Regions from separate parts of the Homo sapiens genome. Here regions 2 and 3 are each linked to region 1. Evidence: promoter capture Hi-C in 16 types of primary human blood cells and fetal thymus (Javierre and others, 2016). All regions are on one chromosome and are shown on one strand. Each heading gives the region's core, a stretch centred on a gene start or on the middle of the fragment in contact. The rest is flanking DNA. Distances are from core to core; before and after follow the strand shown. Region 1 overlaps LOC124903524 (a long non-coding RNA gene). Region 2 holds the start of SCAMP2 (secretory carrier membrane protein 2). Region 3 holds the start of ULK3 (unc-51 like kinase 3).

Evidence for each region. Contacts are between HindIII fragments. The CHiCAGO score rates a contact against its expected background, and 5 or more counts as called.
Region 2: a contact is called between the fragment with the promoter of SCAMP2 here and a fragment that was not itself captured in region 1, in 2 of 17 cell types (M2 macrophages and total B cells). The highest score is 6.7, in M2 macrophages.
Region 3: the fragment with the promoter of ULK3 here is called in contact with a fragment that was not itself captured in region 1 in 5 of 17 cell types (M2 macrophages, M1 macrophages, total B cells and 2 more); the score reaches 10.2 in M2 macrophages.

What each region holds. Positions count from the first base shown.
Region 1 is chr15:74,370,402-74,373,303 of GRCh38, reverse strand. It overlaps LOC124903524 (a long non-coding RNA gene), which reads right to left. Exons shown (of 2, transcript XR_007064709.1): 2 at 2,092-2,902. Among named protein-coding and RNA genes, the nearest start is that of CYP11A1, 4.2 kb to the right of the region's middle. The HindIII fragment of the contact is 3,316 bases long and covers 1-2,902 here.
Region 2 is chr15:74,871,814-74,874,715 of GRCh38, reverse strand. SCAMP2 (secretory carrier membrane protein 2) reads left to right here and starts at 1,351. Exons shown (of 9, transcript NM_005697.5): 1 at 1,351-1,517. The coding sequence starts at 1,461. The HindIII fragment of the contact is 8,993 bases long and covers 1-2,902 here.
Region 3 is chr15:74,841,696-74,844,597 of GRCh38, reverse strand. It overlaps ULK3 (unc-51 like kinase 3), which reads left to right and starts at 1,442. Exons shown (of 16, transcript NM_001099436.4): 1 at 1,442-1,594; 2 at 2,178-2,318; 3 at 2,403-2,523. The coding sequence starts at 1,493. It overlaps SCAMP2 (secretory carrier membrane protein 2), which reads left to right. Exons shown (of 9, transcript NM_005697.5): 9 at 1-868. RefSeq lists a silencer at 961-1,680 and enhancers at 943-1,854, 1,923-2,448. The HindIII fragment of the contact is 10,695 bases long and covers 1-2,857 here.

The DNA of each region.
Region 1 (2,902 bases), core at 403-2,902:
TTACATGACATGGCATGGCATGGCTTCTGTGCCCTTGTCTGACTGGCCCCATCCTCTTCCTCCTCTGGAACTGGACTCTGTCTCCATGGTCCAGCCACGATGGGTGTTTTTCCTTATGTGCCTGTGTAAAGGGGTGCGAGGTGTGTCAGGGGGAGGACAGGGAAGAGCTGTTGGCCTGGTTACTTATGTACTGCCCGCTAGAGAAGCCCGCAGCGGGGGCCTCCCAAGGGCCCATGTGAATATTTCACAGCTGAAGAAAAAATGATTGGCTCTCAAATAAGAACACTGCAAAATGGAAATCAATAAATTCTTAATCAAGTGTCCAACTGTAACATTATATCAACCTCATTAACTGTTAAATTTAGTATTCATAAAAATTTCATTACATCTGAAAGAATGTGTGGGCTAGGTTTTTCTCATTTCACAAGAATTCCCAATTGTAATTTAAATCAGTCACTCCTAGCCAAATGGTTTCAAGAGCAAAATTATAAATATCCTTTCAAAAACTTTACAGCAAATTTTTAATATTTTAACATGTTTGCACTGAGGAAGTGAAGTGAAGCTGTAAAAATAAAAATGAAGCTGAACGCGGTGGCACGCGCCTGTATTCCCAGCTACTCAGGAGGCCGAGCCAGGAGAATTGCTTGAGCCCAGGAGTTCAAAGCCAGCCTGGGCAATGTATAGAGGGGGACAAGGAGCCACAGTGTGCACCCAGGCAGGGAGTGCCTGGGTACTCATTCACCCTTCAAGTTGGGGTGTGGGGGTTCCTCTGGACTTACAGGAGTGATGAGGATTTAGAGGAGCAGGGAGAGGCTGCCCTGGGTAGCTAAGATTAGGGCTCAGGTTCCAGTTCACCATGTGGAGTTAAGTTCTCATAGGAGGGCTGCAATGGGTGGGCCCCTAGGAACAGCCCTCAGAGATGCCCTTTGCAGAGGCTCCCAACCTGGCAACACTCCTTTGCCGGGGGCTCTGGGCCTTTGACTTCTGGGTCCAGTCTTCTCCCCTCCTTTACCCCAATTACTCCTGCCCCTAAAGCTATGTCAACTCTGTCCCGTATTTCCCTTCATTTCACTCTTGTTGGACAGAAGGAATAGCCCAGGATCCATAAAAAGAAACAGTCCCCAAAGCAGGGACCCCTTTCCTCCAGGACACAGAACATTCAGTCTTCATAATCCCTGACTACATAAGCCCTGGCCCGGGCAGGAACAATGTGTTTCATTCCTTCCTTGGGAATGTCTCTTTACCATATGGCCACATGACCCCTCCCAAGGCCAAACAAACAAACAAACAGGAAAAACCCCAAACAGCAAAAGGAATCTATTTAATAATAGTTTTAACAGCCACATCTGATACTTAAGCTGAGAAATGCCATAACCTTGAGTCCCATCTCTAGGGCTGATTTCTCTCCAAACATCTTAGGTCCTTGCCTCTCCCTCCTCCCTTTAAACTGTTAGAGTGGGGTGACACCGAAACAGATGAAATGCCCTCAGAGAAAGAAATAGGGTGGAGTCGGGGGGACCATCTGACTTAGTGAAATACCCTGAGCTGTGCATGTGAAAACAAACAGGGAAAGAATCACCTAATTTTCATGTATGGTGTCCATACCCTAAGCTGAGCAAGAGGGTGATGTTTAAGGCAATGATATTAGGTGGGCTACTTTGAGAACCTCTGAATCTTTTAAGTGCTTTTTTTTATCTTGCAACAGCTCTGAGAGGCAGGTCTGATTATCTCCATTTTAAATATGAAAAAATTAAGTCTCAAGTAGCTCAAGTGTCTTGCCCTATGCCACGCGACCACTCAGTGGTTGAACTAGGATTTGAACCTGAGTCCATGTGGCTCCAAAACCGTTGCTTGTTTCATGATACAAAACTGTATTATTATGTCTATGGTCTGGCCAGCACCTCTGCTAGCGGATGTATTGCCATCCAGAGCAAAACGACATTGTCCAGCCTCCCTGTACCTACCTCCCTGTACCTAGGTACAGTCATGTGGTTACTGAATGGAAGGTCTTGACTGAGTTGTCCAGGTTCTTGGCATGTTAAAGAATTGAACAAAACGCACAAAGCAACAAAAGACAAAGCAACGAAAGAATGGAGTAATGAAGGCACAGATTTATTGAAGATGTGCAAGTACAATTCACAGAGCAAGAGTGGGCTTGAGCAAGTGGCTCAGGAGCCCCTTCAATTAGAGATTTTATTAAGCTAAAGAACATGAACACCCCCGGTGCCCTCCAGAGGCCTCCAATCAGTTACATCCAATGAAGGATTGATCCGTGACCAATTAGAGGCTTAAGTGGCGACTTGGCCTGTGGTTATCACAGAAGTGAAGATGTGGCCTGTATGTTGCCTAATCCTGCCTAGAATTGGCTGTACCTGCTGTGCCTTTTGCTTATGTGAACTGGCTGCACCTGCTCTTCTTTTGTTCCTACCTTAATCCTTGGTTGCCCTAATTCCCTATTCTCCTGCCTCAATGTGGTTAAGTTCCCACCAATCAGATATGGTTGGACTCGTGTGGGACTTTGAGGAAGGGGCTTAAATGAAGCTGGCTCTTCAGGGAGGGCCCCTTTTGGTCTTCTTGAGTTCTTCCGCCTTCTGGCCAGCAACACGGTTAATGCTCCAGCAGCAGCTTGGACCATCGGGTGGCCTTAGAAATGCCAACCAAATGTCTTCGTGGTGAAGCAGGAAGATGGAGCCTGGCATTTTGCTGGGACTGACACACTCACCCTGGACTGCCCAGCCTTGGACATCCTTTATGGGAGAGAGAATACACTTCTATCTTCTTTAAGTCTGTGATTTGGATTTTCTGTTTATCCATCCAAGCTGCCTGCAATGAATAAAATCATGTTCCCCGTCCTAGGCAACGTTTAGATGGGTCTAAATGTGTACACCCTCTACTCTGAGAA
Region 2 (2,902 bases), core at 102-2,601, 500 kb before region 1:
TGTGTGTGAGATATGTATATGTATATATATATATATATATATATATATATATATTTTTTTTTTTTTTTTTTTTTTTTTGTAGAGCCAGGGTCCTGGTATGTTGCCTAGGCTGGTCTCGAACTCCTGGCTTCAAGTGATCCTCCTACCTCTGCCTCCCAAAGTACTGGGATTACAGGCATAAGCCACGCACCCAGCCCTTTATGGAAATTAATTGAAAAATTTTAACAAAGTTCTGTGATAATTTTGCCCCCTTTAAACATATCTTTGATTACAACATGAAGAACAATAGACCAATTAACAGCACTGTATTAGTTCAGGGTAAAAATGACAGTGGCTGGGATTCGGTGACAGCAGAGATGAATAATACCAGACAGATCCAAATAAATAAGGTGGATTTGGCCAGACAGTGGTTCATGAGTATAATCCTAGCATTTTAGGAAGCCAAGGCGGGAGGATCACTTCAGCCCAGGTGTTTGAGACGAGCCTGGGCAATATAGTGAGATCCCCATCTCTACAAAAAATCCATAAATTAGCTGGGTATGGTGGTGACCAGCTGTAGTCCCAGCTACTCAGGAGGCTGAGGTGGGAGGATTGCTTGAGCCCAGGAGCTCGAGGCTGCAGTGAGCCATGATTGCACCACTGCACTCCAGCCTGGGCGACAGTGAGACCCTGTGGGGGGCGGGGGCGGGGGAAAGCGGAGCTGTGGAGAGTGAAGCAGCCACCTCCCCCATGATTGAGGCTGTGTTGCTGAATTCCGTGAGTCACTTCATAAATGTTTGATGTCCAGGTTCAAGTCCCAACTCAGGTCCCAAAGCTGATGGGCCCAGGAACCCTCGTCCCTAAAACGATGAAACGACATCAGAGGGCGAGCAGCCCTAGAAGAAGCAGGCTCAGCTCGGGTGGAGGACTGCTGGATGGTCCTGGCACTTCTCTTTCCCCGAGCACGTTCTGCAGAAGAAGCGCTTTCCTAGTTCTCCCAAGGCCTCTGGCCTCACCTGTCACCCCTGTCCTTTGCCCAGGGATCAGTTTGGACTTCTTCCCAAACTTGGTCTACAGAGAAGTGAAGGGGCTGTTTCCTGTCCCACTTTTGAGAGTTTGCTTTAGAAACATAAAATTGGAAGGTGTCAGATTGATAGGCAGTTGGGAAGGACTCCGGCCACGCCTCTGGCTCCGTAGACGCTCCGCGCAGCCAAGACCCCTGAATCCCCAGCAGAGCGAAGATGTGGACGGAAGCCGAATGCCCACCCACCGCACTATTGTGGGCTGGGCGGGGGGGGGGGGGGGGGGGGCGGAGCGACCCCGGTGCCGTCATAGGGCCACGCCCTCGGGGGAGGGCATCGCGCCTGCGCCAGAACCGCTGCCTCGCTCCCGGAAGTGGAGGGTCTACACGAAGCGCCGCTGGGTCTGGGTGCCCGGAGGCAGCAGCGTTCGCGGAGTTCGCCCGCTGGCCCCCGATCACCATGTCGGCTTTCGACACCAACCCCTTCGCGGACCCAGTGGATGTAAACCCCTTCCAGGTAGAGCCCCTCTCCCGCCATCCAGCTCTCAGATTTCCCTAGGGCCCACGGCCGCCGCCCGGGCCTCTCGCTAGAGCCGGGAGACGTGGCGTAGGAGGGACGGGTCATCTGCCCAATGGGAGAGCGGGCTTTGAGGTCTGGCCTATCGTAACGCGTGAGGGGCGCGACTAGCAGCAGGTGGAACTGCAGAGGAGGCGGGGCGCTGAAGTGTTGGAGACAGTGGGGTCTTCTAGCACCCGGAGGCTGGGCTGTGCTAGGGAAGGGGACTGGAGCAGGTACGGTCGGACCCTTCCGGAAGTCTCCTAGCGTCAGGGAGAAGCGAAATGTGGCTATCGCATTCCCTCATTCTTGGATAGACACCTGTCTTGAGTCACTTTAGAAGAGGGGGTGACAGCAACATATGAGGAGGTGGTGAAGCCTCTGGTGGAGGGGAAAAATGTGGGAAAAGCCCAGGACACCTGCCACCGCTCCACCACCAGCCAAACTAGTGTATAAAGTACAGGAGAGCCCCTGAGATTTGTCAGGGAAAGAAAGATGGGAGAGGGCGGGAAGGTAGCCCAAGTTGAAAAATGGCCTTGATAAGAATTCCACATTTTGGCCATGGGTCTAGTTTGGAGTGGGTTTTGACCAGATAGGAGAGCCCGGGTTAGGGAGAGAGGAGAGGTGCGGGGGACTGTGAAAAATTCTGGACCCACAGGGAACGTTTGTCTGATGGAACTGTGTGTGGTGGCAACATAGTTGAGATGCACTGACGTGTGAGCTGGCCTGACTTTTTTTTTTTTTTTTGAGACGGAGTCTCGCTTTGTCGCCCAGGCTGGAGTGCATTGGCACGATTTCCGCTCACTGCAACCTCTGCCTCCCGAGTTCAAGCAATTCTCCTGCTTCAGCCTCCTGAGTAGCTGGGACTACAGGCGTATGCCACCACACCCAGCTAATTTTCATACTTTTAGTAGAGACGGGGTTTCACCGTGTTGGCCAGGCTGGTCTCAAACTCCTGACCTCAGGTGATCCATCCGCCTCGGCCTTCCAAAGTGCTGGGATTACAGGTGTGAGCCACCACGCCTGGCCTGACCTTTTGAACAGCAATCAAGGAAGAAACAATCTTCCTGCTTTCTTTCTTTTCCTTTTTTTTTGTTTTGTTTTGTTTTGTTTTTTGAGACAATTCTTGCTCTGTCGCCCAGGCTGGAGTGCAGTAGCGCGATCTCGGCTCACTGCAGCCTCAGCCTCCTGGGTTCAAGTGATTCTCGTGCTTCAGCCTCCCGAGAAACTGGGATTACAGGTGTGCACCACCACACCCGGCTAATTTTTGTATTTTTAGTAGAGACGGGGTTTCACCTTATTGGCCAGACTGGTCTCAAACTCCTGGCCTGAAGTGATCCACCCAC
Region 3 (2,902 bases), core at 193-2,692, 470 kb before region 1:
TTCCCCAGGTCACTCCAGTGGTCTCCAGGCTTCCAGAGAAGGCTGGTTGCCTCAAGCTCTTCTCTGCCTCATAAACGGATCCAGAGAAGGCTGGTTGCCTTAAGCTCTTCCCTGCCTCGTGTTCCTGAGAAACGGATTAATAGCCCTTTATCCCCCTGCACCCTCCTGCAGGGGATGGCACTTTGAGCCCTCTGGAGCCCTCCCCTTGCTGAGCCTTACTCTCTTCAGACTTTCTGAATGTACAATGCCGTTGGTTGGGATTTGGGGACTGGAAGGGACCAAGGACACTGACCCCAAGCTGTCCTGCCTAGCGTCCAGCGTCTTCTAGGAGGGTGGGGTCTGCCTGTCCTGGTGTGGTTGGTTTGGCCCTGTTTGCTGTGACTACCCCCCCCCCTCCCCGAACCGAGGGACGGCTGCCTTTGTCTCTGCCTCAGATGCCACCTGCCCCGCCCATGCTCCCCATCAGCAGCATCCAGACTTTCAGGAAGGGCAGGGCCAGCCAGTCCAGAACCGCATCCCTCAGCAGGGACTGATAAGCCATCTCTCGGAGGGCCCCCTAATACCCAGTGGAGTCTGGTTCACACCCTGGGGGGTGTGTCACTGTGATGGGACACGTAGGAGTCCACCCTTAAAACCAGCACCCTGTCCCTCGAGGCTGCCGAGTGGGTGTGTGGACTGGGGTGCCTTCCCACAAAACTAGCCTCCGGCTCTGGGCCCGAGACAGCCGCAGGCCCCAGCCACTGAATGATACTGGCAGCGGCTGGGGTTTTATGAACTCCTTTCTGGTATTTTTTCCCCTCTATGTACAAATGTATATGTTACGTCTCAATTTTTGTGCTTAAGTAAAAATAAAAACATTTTCAGACAACACGGGTCCACATGTCTGGTGGACTTGGGAGGACGGGGCAGCCCACAGGATTAGGGGCTGGGCGCCGCTGCTAAGATTGGAGAGCGGGGACAGTTAAGATGCAATAAATAGGTCAAGGCCCTTCCTCAGAAAAGTGAAAAGCAGCTGGGAGGCCTGGGAAGCCAACGCGGCCTCTTCCAAAGGCGCCTTCTCGTGCCAGTAGCTCTCCTTTCAGAGCTGCGGGTCCTGGGGAGGGGCCCTGGGAGCCTCCCGGACGCCGTCGCCCCCACACACGCCCGCTCCGCCGCCCGCGCCCTCACGTGGGCGATCTCTAGACGCCTCTGCGCCCGCTAGGAGTCCCCGGAGACCACGCCGGCCGTCCTCCGTTGTTAACTTCTAGGCTCGCGGGGCCTCCGTATCCCCACGTGGGCCCTGCAGGAACTGGCGGGGCGCGTGACCCGGCGAGGCCCAGAGACAGGGGAGGGGCGCCGGGAGCCGGGCGGATCCGCGTCCCCGATGCGCGCTGCATTTCCGGCGGGCGGCGCTGGGGGCAGCGTGGAGCCACCCAGTGCTCGGCCCGCCCCGCAACCCGCCGGAACCGCCGCCCGCAGCGAGGAAGCGCCCGCGCGGGCGCAGGCGGCCGGAATGGCGGGGCCCGGCTGGGGTCCCCCGCGCCTGGACGGCTTCATCCTCACCGAGCGCCTGGGCAGCGGCACGTACGCCACGGTGTACAAGGCCTACGCCAAGGTGGGTGCCGGCCGATGGCCCCGTGCCCGCCCGAGCTAGCTCGGCTGGTGCCGGCCGGGGAGACTCTGAGAGGTTAGCGACAGTGTGGGAATAGTTAGGGGCGGGAGGCCGGCCTCGCCCCAGCTGACCCTCGGCGGAGGTTGGAGCCGACTGCCACGCTTAGGTCTTAAAGAGCGCACCTGCACCCACCTGCAGGGTCAGTGGCTGAAGAACAGGCTCAAAACAGGTTACCTGGTGGGCTGGGAGGAGTCTGGGACTGGAGCCAGTTGGGAGGCAGAGTGGGCGGTTCTAGAACCCTGAGTGACATGCCTCTGCCGGGAGCACTCCAGAATGCAAAGAAATGGATCAGCTAGCCGAGGGTTGGAGAAGACCAGGCTGAGGCTGTGTCGGGAAGCCAGGATTCCAGAATCAGCATTCCTCACTGGCCTCACAAGGGAAAGCTGGGAAGCCCGGTGCTGGTGTGCAGTAGGTAGACCCGGGGAGGGGCGGGGTGGGGGAACAGAGGGAACCAGATAGAGCCTTTCCAGTCAGACAAGGGTCCTGGCCCCCTCAAGGCAGAGTCCCCAAATCTCCTGTCTCGCAGAAGGACACTCGTGAAGTGGTAGCCATAAAGTGTGTAGCCAAGAAAAGTCTGAACAAGGCATCGGTGGAGAACCTCCTCACGGAGATTGAGATCCTCAAGGGCATTCGACATCCCCACATTGTGCAGCTGAAAGACTTTCAGGTGTGAGCCTGGGGCGGGGCCGCTGCCAAAGGGAGCTGGAGAAGGGACACTCTCTTCAGGCCGCCTCTCTGCCTCTAAACACAGTGGGACAGTGACAATATCTACCTCATCATGGAGTTTTGCGCAGGGGGCGACCTGTCTCGCTTCATCCATACCCGCAGGATTCTGCCTGAGAAGGTGGCGCGTGTCTTCATGCAGCAATTAGGTAAAGGCCTGTGACACCAGCCTGACACTCTGTCCCTTGTTCTCTGCCCCCCACCATCCCACCCCTCCCCCAGGCTTAGAGCCTTGGCACGCATTGCAGCTGCCTCCTGCACAGCCTGAAATTTTATGGTCCTGTTTATCTCATACACTCAACCCTTGCTCAAGGACGCTGTGGGAGAGATGAGGGGGTAACCCCTCTGTGGGGTGTTCAGGCTTCCATACATAGAACATAATATAAGGACCTTGTAGAACATTCCAGAGTCCTGTAGGTAGGACTCAAGTGCTGTGCCAAGGAAAAGAGCAGGATCTCAAGGGCTGGGGCATCCAGAGAAGCTTCTGAGAGGTGGGGAGACTTGTGAAGGGGCAGAGGGAAGGAGGGT